2 separate regions of the Homo sapiens genome follow, and region 1 is linked to region 2. The links are contacts of gene promoters, found by promoter capture Hi-C in blood cells and fetal thymus (Javierre and others, 2016). All regions are on one chromosome and are shown on one strand. Each heading gives the region's core, a stretch centred on a gene start or on the middle of the fragment in contact. The rest is flanking DNA. Distances are from core to core; before and after follow the strand shown. Region 1 overlaps RPA1 (replication protein A1). Region 2 holds the start of MIR22HG (MIR22 host gene).

What was found. Contacts are between HindIII fragments. The CHiCAGO score rates a contact against its expected background, and 5 or more counts as called.
Region 1: a contact is called between a fragment that was not itself captured here and the fragment with the promoter of MIR22HG in region 2, in 3 of 17 cell types (M0 macrophages, M1 macrophages and megakaryocytes). The highest score is 7.3, in M0 macrophages.

The regions. Positions count from the first base shown.
Region 1 is chr17:1,845,155-1,851,579 of GRCh38, forward strand. All of the region lies in intron 4 of RPA1 (replication protein A1), which reads left to right. Among named protein-coding and RNA genes, the nearest start is that of RPA1, 18 kb to the left of the region's middle. The HindIII fragment of the contact is 1,550 bases long and covers 3,128-4,677 here.
Region 2 is chr17:1,713,247-1,719,636 of GRCh38, forward strand. MIR22HG (MIR22 host gene) reads right to left here and starts at 2,964. Exons shown (of 3, transcript NR_028505.2): 1 at 2,884-2,964; 2 at 457-768. MIR22 (microRNA 22) reads right to left here and starts at 741; the gene lies at 657-741. It also overlaps a transcript of WDR81 not described here. RefSeq lists an enhancer at 3,111-3,752. The HindIII fragment of the contact is 4,707 bases long and covers 709-5,415 here.

The DNA.
Region 1 (6,425 bases), core at 2,653-5,152, 130 kb after region 2:
TGCTGCTTTGTGTGTGTGTGTGTGTGTGTGTGTGTGTGTGTACAATCTTGAATCTTTTATATTAAATGCTATATTTAGCCAATATAGAATACATTGAACCACATGTGGTGGCTCATGCCTGTAATCCCAGCGCTTTGTGGTGCTAAGGTGGGAGGATTGCTTGAGGCCAGGAGTTTGAGACCAGCCTGGGTGACATAGCCAGGCCCTGTCTCTACAAAAAAAAAAAAGTTAAATTAGTGAGGTGTGGCGGCACACGCTACAGTCCTAGCTACATGGGAGGCTGAAGTGGGAGGATTCCCTAACCCCAGGAGTTTGAGACTGCAGTGAGCTGTGATTGCACCGCCGCACTTCAGCCTGGGCAGCACAGCAAGAGGCCATCTCTAAAAAAATAAATTTAAAAAAAGAATGTGTTGTACACGGACAAGTTACTGCATGCTAGAGATACAGTGATGAACAGAACTGTTACTCTCATTGCTAAAACATGACTGATTTCAGGCAAGGTGCAGTGGCTCACACCTGTCATGCCAACACTTTGGGAGACCAGGTAGGGAGGATCACTTGAGCCCAGGAGTTTGCAACCAGCCTGGACAATATGGTGAGACCTTGTCTCTACGAAAAAAAGGAAAAGTTAGCTGGGCGTTATGACATGTGCCTGTGGTCCCAGCTACTCGGAAGGCTGAGGAGAGAGAGTGGCCTGAGCCCTGAGAGGTGAAGGTTGCAGTGAGCTGAGATCACGCCACTGCACTCCAGGCTGGGCAGGAGAGTAAGACCCTGTCTCAAAAAAGACCAAAACAACAACAACAAAAACCGAGATAAAAAATGATAACAATACTAAGAGGTTTAAGTAATTAGTTTTTTAAATTCTGTTATACTGATTTTAGGACTCTTACATTTTCTCCAGCTGTTCTTTTTTCCTACCTCTTTATCTCTGTGTTGGTTGGATTTCACTCAATAACTTTTTTCTGGACTGGCTCTTTAGTGCCGTCTTCCCCATTATCAGCCTGTTGGTCTTTATGCTAGAATGACCACTTGCCTGGCTGTCTATTGTTAGGTTATGTGGCTTTACCCTCAGAATTTTGTCTTCTGGCATTGAATGTTGATCTGGAGAAGTCTTAAGGCCAGCCTGGTTTGATTTCTTCCCTTGTAGGAAGCTTTGCTTTTTTTTTTTTTTTTTTTTTTTCTCCTGAGGCCTCACTCTGGTTGCCCAGGCGGGAGTGCAGTGGCACCATCAGGGCTCACTGTAGCCTTGACCTCCCGGGCTCAGGTGATTCTCCCACCTCAGCCTCCCGAGTAGCTGGGACTACAGGCGCCCACCACCACGCCTGGCTAATTTTGTTTTGTATTTTTAGTAGAGACGGGGTTTCACCATGTTAGCCAGGATGGTCTCGATCTCCTGACCTCGTGATCCACCTGCCTCAGCCTCCCAAAGTGCTGGGATTACAGGCGTGAGCCACCGTGGCCGGCCGTCCATATTCTTTTTTCTTCTGGTATGTGGTATGCTTGTTCAGTCTGCCGATTCAGTTCTTTTCAACGAAGTTTTTCTGTGTGTTATTCCTTAATGTTGTTTTCTATTTCACTTATTGAGTTCCAGTTTTTTACATACGTTGTAGATAACTTTGATCTCCGCATAGGTCTTTACTTTAACCTTTTTTCTGATGGATGCATTGGCTTGCTTCGAGGTTTTCCAACGTAATAGTACAGTTTTTAGTTTTCTCTCTTCTACTCCTCAATCTTTATAAATTATTAGATGTATAATAGTATTGATTTTGTTCTGTTTTTTTCTTAGCTGTTCAAGCTCCCTTTTCTTCTTAGTCTCTTGTTTTAGCTCATCTTTTGACTGTTAATTTGTTGGATTCATATAGTCGTACTTATTTTGCCAATCGCTTTTGGGAAGTGTCACTCCTTTTCTTGGCTTGTACTTTCTTCCAGAGTGGGTTCTTTAATCGGCTTTGCCTCCCTGTTGCTTTCCCTTTTATGCATTGTTGTGTATTGTATTGTTGCTTTGTCATCATCCCTTTTTATTTTGTTCATGCTTAATGTGGACAGTCCTGTCCAGACTTGGTATTTGCTCTGACATAGTCTAGGCTAGGTACATGTTGCCAACCTTCTCACTTGGGACCTTTTATCTTCCACTCCAGGCTATCTTGGAGCGCTTAAGTGGTGTTTTGCAGCCACTTTTCTGTCCTCCAGGGCATGGTTGTGGGAGAGGGTGGAAGTGTTGCTGGGATTGAGTGCAGTCCTTGCTGGGAAACTTCACAGCCCACTCTCTCCAGTCACGGAGACAGCTCCACTCCCCTGGGCTTTGCCTGATGGCACTGCCTCAGCTTGCAGGCTTGCCTCATATTCTTTTGTACCTCTGCTGAGAGCCTGTGTGTGCGGCTGGGTTTATTTACTCCTTGCTTTTTTGGTGATCATTCAGGTTTATTCTAAACAGGACTTGAGCAGTCATCCTTGTACTTTATCTTAACGTGTTTATGCTTTTATTTCTGAATAACAGATCATTAGAATTTGTATTGTGGGGTCAACGGACATCTGTGGAAAGTATACTAATTATACTCATAAATGTTATATAAGAGTATCTATTGGCCAGGCACAGTGGCTCAGGCCTGTAATCCCAGCACTTTGAGAGGCTGAGGCGGGGCAGATCACAAGGACAGGAGATCGAAACCAGCCTGGCCAACATGGTGAAACCCCATCTCTACTAAAAATACACAAATTAGCTGGGCGTGGTGGCGGGTGCGGCCTGTAATCTCAGCTACTCAGGAGGCTGAGGCAGGAGAATCGCTTGAACCCAAGAGGCGGAGGTTGCAGTGAGCCGAGACTCCAGCCTCGGTTACAGAGCAAGACCCCATCTCCAAAAAAAAAAAGCGTATCTCTGAATAGACAAATCCATAGAAACAAATTCAATGACTGGTTCTCAGGGGTGGTAGAGTGTGGAGTGACTGTCATTGTACACATGGTTTCTTTTGCTGATGACAACAGTGTTCTAAAGTGAGGTAGTGGTGATGCTTGCATAACTGCAAAATGCAAAACCCATAGGATTATCCACTCTGGAAGGGTGAGTTCATTATGGTACGTGAATGATATCTCAATAAACATGTTATTTAAAAAGAAGTGTTTGCCATTAAGCTTGTCAACATACTGTGTATTAGTCATATTTTAAAGAATAATTATCAGCCAGGCACGGTGGCTCATGCCTGTAATCCCAGCACTTTGGGAGGCTGAGGCAGGCAGATCACCTGAGGTCAGGAGTTTGAGACCAGCCTGGTCAACATGGTGAAACCCGTCTCTACTAAAAATACAAAAATCAGCCGGGCATGGTGGCACATGCCTGTAATCCCAGCTACTCGGGAGGCTGAGGCAGGAGAATTGCTTCAACCCGGGAGGCAGAAGTTGCAGTGAGTCAAGATTGCGCCATTGTACTCCATCCTGGGTGACAAGTTTTTCTTGCCCAGGCTGGAGTGCAATGGTGCCATCTCGGCTCACTACAACCTCTGCCTCCCGAGTTCAAGCAATTCTCTGCCTCAGCCTCCTGGGTAGCTGGGATTACAGATGTGCACCACCATGCCTGGCTAATTTTTTTGTATTTTTAGTAGAGACGGGGTTTCACCATCTTGGCCAGGCTGGCCTTAAACTCCTGACCTTGTGATCCACCCACCTCGGCCTCCCAAAGTCCTAGGATTACAGGTGTGAGCCACCGCACCCAGCCTGTTCCTTTTTATGGCAGAATAATACTCTGTTGTCTAGATACATCACATTTTGTGTATCTATTCGTTAGTTGATGGGCATTCGGATTATTTCTGCCTGCTTGCTATTACTAATAATTCTATGAACATTTGTGTACAAGTTTTTTGTGGACAGACGTTTCCATTTCTTTTATAGATAATCTGTCTAGGAAAGGAATTGCTAGGCTAAATGGTCATTTTATGGTTAACTTTTTGAGGCTATTGTTCAAAGTGTGTACACCAGTTTACCTCCCTGCCAACAGCGCGTGAGTGTGGAGTTTCTCCCCGTTCTTGCCAGTACTTCAAATTACACTCCATAGAGTTTCAGTTAAACTTCTCTGTAGACTATTTAGTAGTTTATAGACAAGGTCTTTCTTTACTTTTTCCCTCCAAATTTTTGTTGGCTGTTCTTTTTTTTTTTTTTTTTTTTTGAGACGGAGTCTCGCTCTGTCTCTCAGGCTGGAGTGCAGTGGTGCGATCTCGGCTCACTGCAAGCTCCGCCTCCCGGGTTCACGCCATTCTCCTGCCTCAGCCTCCCCAGTAGCTGGGACTACAGGTGCCCACCGCCACGCCCGGCTAATTTTTTGTATTTTTAGTATAGACGGGGTTTCACTGTGTTAGCCAGGATGATCTCGATCTCCTGACCTCATGATCTGCCCACCTCGGCCTCCCAAAGTGCTGGGATTACAGGCGTGAGCCACCGCACCCGGCATTCCTTATTCTCATATTTGTCATTTTGTTTTTTTTTTTTTTAATTTTACTGTATTGACAGCGCTGTCAAAACTTTGTTGGACGATGGTAATGTCAGCAGTTGCCTGATTTTCATGGAAATGCTTTTGGTTTCACTGTTCAATGCAGTGTTGATCGTGGAAAAACGCGCAGTTTACCAGGTGCAGGTTTTATTTTTTAAGTCCTCAGGATTTCATCAGAAATGGCTCGTAAATTCTTTCAAAGCTTTTACTACATCTTGATATGATCATATTTAATGAACTATTTTAATAGATTATCTAGGCTGGACGTGGTGGCTCATGCCTGTAATCTCAACACTTTAGGAGGCCGAGGTGGGTGGATCACTTGAGGTCAGGAGTTCGAGACCAGCCTGGCCAACATGGTGAAACCCTGTCTCTACTGAAAATACAAAAATTAGCCAGGCGTGGTGGCACATGCCTATAGTCCCAGCTACTCGGGGGACTGAGGCAGGAGAATCACTTGAACCCGGGAGATGGAGGTTGCAGTGAGTTGAGATCGCCCCACTGCACTCTAGCCTGGGCGACAGGGCAAGACTCCATCTCAAAAAAAAAAAAAGATTACCTAATATTCAACTCTTGTTTCATTCTTGCGATAAATCCTGCCTTAAAAAAATAATCCTAGGGCTAGGCTGGTGGCTCACGCCTGTAATCCCAGCACCTTGGGAGGCCAATGCAGGTGGATCACCTGAGGTGGGGAGTTCAAGACCAGCCTGGCTGGCCAACATGGTGAAACACCATCTCTACTGAAAATACAAAAATTAGCCAGGCATGGAGGCACACACCTAATAGTCCCAGCTACTCGGGAGGCTGAGGCAAGAGAATCACTTGAAACCAGGAGGCGGAGGTTGCAGTGAGTTGAGATTGCCCCACTGTACTCTAGCCTGGGTGACAGAGCAAGACTCCGTCTCAAAAAAAAAAAAGGATTGCCTAATAATTCAACTCTTGTTTCATTCTTGCAATAAATCCTGCCTTAAAAAAAAATCCTAGGCTGTGCTGGTGGCTCATGCTTGTAATCCCAGCACTTTGGGAGGCTGAGGCAGGTGGATCACCTGAGATGGGGAGTTCGAGACCAGCCTGGCCAACATGGTGAAACCCTGTCTCTACTAAAAATACAAAAATTAGGTGTGGTGGCGGGTGCCTGTAATCCCAGCTACTCAAGAGGCCGAGGCAGGAAAATTGCTTGAACCTGGGAGGCGGAGGTTGCAGTGAGCTGAGATTGTGCCACTGCGCTCCAGCCTGGGTGACAGAGTGAGACTCTCTCTCTCAAAAAAAAAAATAAGAATTATCTTAGCTTGCTAATTTTCTCTTTTTATTTTTAAAAATCTTTTTTCTGGAAAACTTTAAACATCTACAAACATAGACAGAATACACAGTAGTCTGATGAATCCCCATATAGCCCATCATTCAGCTCCAAATTGTCATCTGTTGTCCAGTTTTGCTCTAGCTCCATCCTTTCAACGTCCACTATCCTCTGTAATTTTGAGGTAAATCTCAGACATCATATTATTTCATCCATAAATATTTTAGTATGTATTTTTGAAAGATAAAAACTCTTAAAAAGACACTATCCCATTTCACACCTAAAAAAATACCGTCCGTGTTGTATTTCCATCTTGTTGTATATGTGCGTGTGTATGTGCGTGTGCGTGTGTGTGTGTGTGCCCACACAATCTATATGAATCAGAATCCAAAATAAGTTTCCTGTGACGGTAGATTGATGGTCTGTTAAGTCTCTCTGAATCTGTAGGCTCTGCGTCTGCCTTTTTTCTCCTTTACTGTTTATTTGCTGAAGAAACCAGGTCATTTATCCTTCACCTTGTGCAGTTTCCCCCAGTCTGGATTTGGCTGATTGCATCCCTGTAAAGTCACTTAATGTGTCCTTGTCATCTGTATTCTCTGTAAGTTGATATTAGTGTATTCTTTTAATATGCTGCTAGGTTCATCTTGCTGA
Region 2 (6,390 bases), core at 1,714-4,213:
CACCCAGCTTCTGGGTGATGGTATCAGGGATGGGGGAGGGACAACAGCTTCTGTGAAAAGGTGTTTTGTTTCCACCCACAGCAGGGGGAGAGCCCGGGTTCTGAGTCAACCCAGATGGGCTTCTGATTCCCTCATGCACACTCATCTGTGTGACTGCCCATCTCACAGGTGGAGAAACTGAGACAGGAGGTCTAAGGGTCTCAGATACAGGTAAGTGCCCAGGAATCTAGAGTCTGGGCCAGCCTAAGGAAATGCAGGGAAAAGTAAGAGCAGAAGGATGACTCCTCACGCCTGGGTTTAGTATCACTTTTCCCTGAAGAGTGAGCTTACTTTTGGACCTCATCTGGAAAGGCCAGTGGGGAAGAATGAAAGATACGGAAGGAGGGTCAAGAAGGAAGTCGGGGAGACAGAGTGTTCTCTCCACTTCTTCCCACTGTCACACAAAGACCAACTAACCTTGGGTTGTTTGAGCCTTCTACTCCTCAATCCAGCCAGTGTCTCTAATCTAAAACCGCTCCTTGCTGGGCCAATCTGGGCAAAGGCTCTCCAACTTGCCCAAAACGTATCATCCACCCTGCTGTTCGGACCTTCCCAGCCCATTTCTGTCACCTTCCAGATGATGGGGAAAGCAGCTCCTCCTCCTCCTCGAAGCCAGGGGCAGAGGGCAACAGTTCTTCAACTGGCAGCTTTAGCTGGGTCAGGACATAAAGCTTGCCACTGAAGAACTACTGCGGCTCAGCCAGGTGAGGGCGTGAGAGGAACAGGCTCCTAAGGGAAAGGGAGGGAAAATGGGAAAGATCTGAGCAGGGCATGTTGCTGCAACGCTGACCCACTCGCTGGCCATCAGGGTCCTGCCCCAGTAGACCTCTGAGATTCTAATGCAGGGCTGCAGCTCTGATCTGGGCCCGCGGAAGCTGTTAACCTCGCTGAGCAGCAAGAGGTGGCTGTAAACAGACTTCCCTTGCTCTTCTTTCCAGAACTGGAGTCTAGAGAAACCCAGTCCTGCTCTCACCCTCCCCTGCCCTAGCGGCCCCTGGGGGCCCAGCCTCCTCAGCATTCAGACAGGGTGGGGCCCGGGACCCTGGACACACCCCACCAGCACGCAGGTACTAGAAGTGTGGTACCTCAGGTCCAGAAATGTGAGTTCAGTGATCAGCCCAACTGACTTGTTCCCAGGGAGTTCAGCTGGAAGGAGAGTTCTGGGGGCCTGGATTGGGGAAGAGTGAGGAAGGGAGGAGGCCTAGCGTTTGAAAGAAGGTCAGCAGAGGCCCCCGGGGCTGTGAGGGGCGGACAGGGGACCACAGGCTGGAGAGGAGGGAGGTATCGGCAGGGTGGCCGGGGCTGTGAGGGGCGGGCAGGGGACCACAGGCTGGAGGGGAGGGAGGTATGGGCAGGGTGGCTGGGCAGCTTCCCCAGGACTCTCAGATGCCAGGCATTCCGCTTGCGCATTCCGGGTACATCTGGTATGAATTCCAGGCTGTCTGCCGGCCCCTCCATGTCTGAACTTTGTTCCAAGTTCCAAGCCCCGCCCCCACAGTTCCAACGCATGAATCAGCAGGAAAAGCCGGGCCCTGCAGCATGGCCCAGGGAGGGGGCTGGGGGCGTGGCAGGCTCGGGGGATGTGAGCTGGGGAGGGCGGGTCCGTGCTGACACTCAGTCCAAGGGCATGGCCCACGCCAGGCTGAGGGGCCAAGGCGGTCTTGCCTTGGAATTTCTATACTCAGAGGGTAAGAAAGATTGGGGGATACGGGGTGCGGTTCAAATTCCGAAACCCTCTTGGGAGGCATGAACTTTGTGTATCTTCCTTCCCCTGGGTGACCAGTCCAACTCCGTCCGACCTTCCTCTGTCTGAGATAGCTCTGTTCAACCCAGAGGACTCAGCAGCTGCTGAGAGTCTGTGCCAAGCAGGTGCCCTTGGCTGCAGGGCGGGGTGGGCCCAGGGCACTGACCCTCTGACCAGCTGCTCCATCAACCCTCTGGCACTCTGACAGCTCCTAGCCCAATCTGACAGCCAGGATGACAGGCCAAAGGAGTTGGAGGCTGGAACCAGGGCCGGAGGGAGGTGGGGGTGACAGCCTCGCCGGAGGCCATGGGGAGGGGCCAAGAGTTGGCCGAGAGGTGGGGAGAGAGGCAGCCCAGTGATGACTAACCCAGGCGCCCCACCCAGCCAGCCGGCTTCCCAGGCAGTCAGGGCCAGGCCTGGGCTAGGGGCCTCACAATCGGACAGGCTGGGGGGAGGTGCAGAGGTGACCTTCTCTCGGCCCAAGACGGCCAGTTAGTCTGGGGAGCGGGGGTTAGAGTTTCCAGGCCCTCCTCTTGCCCTCTTCCCCCCGCCCAACCACGGTGAAACCCTAACCTTTGGGTTGCATAAGGCCCCGGCACCGCCGCCCCCTACTCCTCTCCCCTCCCCCCTTACATAACATCCCCTGGAGAGAACGAGAGGAGGGGCCGGCCCGCCCAGCGACCCCTTCCCTGCCAGGGCGCTGAACTGGCCCTGACCCAGTGAACGCCGGCAGAGGCAAAGCACCTCCTCGCCGCCCGCTCGGGGGGTCCAGACCCTCCCCAGGCTAGATGGCCGGCCCCTGTATCCTCAGACCGGGGGCCGCCGGGTGAGCCGCCCCCGGCCCTCCGGCCCCTCGGCTCTCCCCCCGCCCCCCGCCACTCCGCCAGCCCTTCCGCCACGACTCCCGTCCCAGACTCTTTCCTCGTAGCTCCTGACACACTAACCCGGCCAGTCCAGGCCCCTCTCCCCGAGGCGCCCCTGCCCCCGCCGCCCCTTCTCCTCCCGGAAGGGCTGGGTGTGGCCGCCCGGACCCCACTTTCACCCTCCATCCCGTTACCGCGGCTCCCCGCTGCGTGACCGGGTCGCCAGCTCACACCCACCTGGTGCTGGGTGTGGGGGTTGCTGCACGAGGGGGAGCAAATCACTGCGTCCGCTCCCCACGGCCGGCGGCGCTGTCTCTTCTCGGCACCCAGCACACACCGGCTCCAGGCTCCGATCAGCTGGCGGCGTCGTGACGCACGAGCTGCGAATGCACGGCCCGGGGCCAATCACCGCCCACTGCTGGGCAACGTGGCCCCGCCCACCCGGGGGCCGACGGGGCCTCGCCCTGGTCCCGCCTCTCCGGGCGCCCTGGCTCTGATTGGCAAGGAGGCCACCCTTTTGCCGGGCGGAATTGCACGAAGCCACGCCCACCCACTGAGGAGCCGGCCAATAGACGGACAGGTGTGGCCCAGCCCTCCGCGTCAGCGACCCGCTTAGAAAAGCGCTACGTCAAACGAGAGTCCTAAAGAGCAGGCGAAAGCCACGGCGTCTGCGTTTGCAATGCATGCTGGTCCGTGTAGTTCTCAGCCTGACACCGTCGTTCCCAGAACCCAGCGCGCTCTGTGAGTTGGCATTTTTAAACTGAGCTCGGAATCCAGCCCGGGGAAGTCCTTAAAGGGCGACAGCCCCTCCTTGTTGGAGTCGTGAGTGCTTCTTTTAGACATTCCCCAAACTGACTCGCCGGCCTCTGCGGGACGCTATAGCTCTTTAAGGAAAGGTGGAGCGGACCAAGGAGCAGGAGTGGGCAGAGCGTCAGCCCCCAGGGCAGCAGAGACTGCCGTTGGAGAGCTCTCCAGGGTTTTTGGAGGAGGGAGGGTGCTCGCCTCGCCCAGCCCACTCCTCCTGGGGGCTCTTCCTAACCACAGGAGGCTTTTTTTCTTGGATGTCTCTTCCCAGTCCCAGAAGAGCCCCCAGAGCCTCCCAAGAGGTAGCTTTCTAACAAAAGATTCATAGCACAGTCCTCACCTTAGGGTAGAGGGAGGGCTTCTGGTCAGAAATTAGGGGATGGGCCATGCCAAAGTGCAAAGGGTCAGCAATCGCATCCTCTGATTAACCCCCATTCAGTCCCGCCCTCCAAAGCTCTTCACTGACTCAGGCCTACTTAGGGAAGAGATTCGAAGGTGGAGACCAATGAGCAGGCTGCTCCTTCCCCAGGGGCCAATCAGAGTCTAGATGAGCGGGGGATGGGCAAAAAGTGAAATGAACCCAGTGACTTGGCAAAAGCTGCTGGTCGGCGTTTTTAAAGGGGCAAGCCGGAGACCTGCCCTACCTTATCAATCCCCGCAAGTCCCCCAAAGAGGAACATGTGGACTGAAATCCATGCCTTTTCCTTCAGCTCCAAATAGGGGCTGAGGGTAACTAAGCAGGAATGATGAGGCTGGAGGGTGAGATCCTTCCTTCTGTTAAATACGCACTCCATCAGGTAATTGATAAGGTTCACTTGGAGCTCCAAAATTCTGAGCCTGCGTTCAGGACATTGCGCCTTTAAGGAAACTTCCTGCCTTGCGCCCCAGTAACAGCTGATTGTTGGAAAGTGTGACCTCTGGGGACGAATCAGCTGTTACCACATCCTCCTCCTTGCTTACCCTCCTCCATCCCCTTATCCACTCCCATGGGTGGTGAAGGAAAGAACGTGGGGGATGTGATTGTATGATCTTTCTTTTCCCCCATCACTCCAAGACTGTCTCCCCCAACCCCAACCCCGCTCTGCTCCTTAGTTCTTCAGAGGCTCTGGGCTTGGAAAGAGAGGTATTTCCTGTTAGCACAGTAAATTCAGACTCTGTGGTCTAGACCCTCCCTGGTCTAGGGGAAGGCCAGTACTGGGGAGGTCCAGAATGGTGGCTGGCGCTGGGGAGGGTACAGTGAACCCGAGGACCAAGCCTGGGGAGGAGGAATGGCTATGGGAAGCAAACTTGGGGTTCAGAACGCTGCTTCTCAGGCCAGCCGCCCCCTACTTCCTACTCAAGTTGCCCTATTCCTCCATGGACAGGTGTCTGCTGATGGGATCCTCCTGCTTTTGCCCATTTACTCCACCTCCTTATTTATTTTTTTTTTTTCTGTTTTTGAGACAGAGTCTCGCTCTGTTGCCCAGGCTGGAGTGCAGTGGCGCGATCTCGGCTCACTGCAACCTCCACCTCCCGGGTTCAAGCGATTCTCCTCCTTCAGCCTCCTGAGTAGCTGGGATTACAGGCGTGCGCTACCACTCCCAGCTAATTTTTGTATTTTTAGTAGAGATGGTGTTTTGCCATGTGGGCCAGGCTGGTCTCGAACTCCTCACCTCAGGTGATCCACCCGCCTCGGTCTCCCAAAGTGCTAGGATTATAGGCGTGTGAGCCACCGCGCCCGGCCGCATTCACTCCACTTCTAACTGTTCTCAGCTGCCACCTGGTCCCTGGGCCGCTCCATTTTTGGCTTTTGGCGGTGCCCTGCCCACATGGCCACCCCCCATAGCAAGGGTCCTAATTGCTCAAGGACTGCAGGTGGGACACGTTGGCCCCAGAAGCCAGCGTCTTTGGCTGGGAAGTGCTGGGAAGACCCAGGTAAATATTTTGCCTCGATCCTGAGTTGGGAGTCAGGGTCACTCCAGGACAAGCTTAGTGTGAAGTCCTAGGACTGACTTGGCAAGGCGTGGAGAAATTGAGCAGGGCCCTGGCCAAGCATGGAAGGAAGTGAAGCCTCACCAGTGGCCCCTATTCTCCATTATCCTGAGCATAGAAATCCCATCCCTTTCCCACTCACGGCCCTTGGGGTGACCCTTTTCCATTTTGTTCTGAACACTGACCCCACCCCCTAGGTCAAAAGCACAGGCTTCGAGTCCAGGGTTTCGCCACCTCAGCACCCACTGGCATTTTAAGTAGAATAATTTCTTGTGGGAGGGCTACCGGGTGCACAATAGGACATCCACGTGGTCCCTGGCCTCTGTCCTAGATGTCAGTGGCAACACCCACCCACCCCCAGCTCCCAGTTTTGACAACCAAAAGTATCTCCAGACGTTACCAAATGTCTCCTAGGGGCCAAAATCTCCTCCAACTGAGAACTACTGTGTTAGGCACACTTAGATTCAAATTCCAGCTCTTACTAGCTGTGAACTTGTTACCGATAATTTCCCCTCATCTACAACATACGGTGAATAAGGAATTCAAGCCTTGTTGTAGGGATTTCAACATTTAAAAATATTTTAAAAGTTAAAAATGTGCCCGGGCGCGGTGGCTCATGCCTGTAATCCCAGCACTTTGGGAGGCTGAGGCAGGCGGATCACGAGGTCAGGAGATGGAGAACATCCTGGCTAACACTGTGAAACCCCGTCTCTAATAAACATACAAACAATTAGCCGGGCGTGGTGGCGGGCGCCTGTAGTGCCCAGCTACTTGGGAGGCTGAGGCAGGAGAGTGGCGTGAACCCAGGAGGCGGAGCTTTGCAGTGAGCCAAGATTGGGCCACTGCACTCCAGCCTGGGTGACAGAGCAAGACTCCGTCTCAAAAAAAGAAAAAAAAAAAAAAATTAAAAATGTGGCCAGGCACAGTGGCTCATACCTGTAATCCCAGCACTTTGGGAGGCCGAAGCAG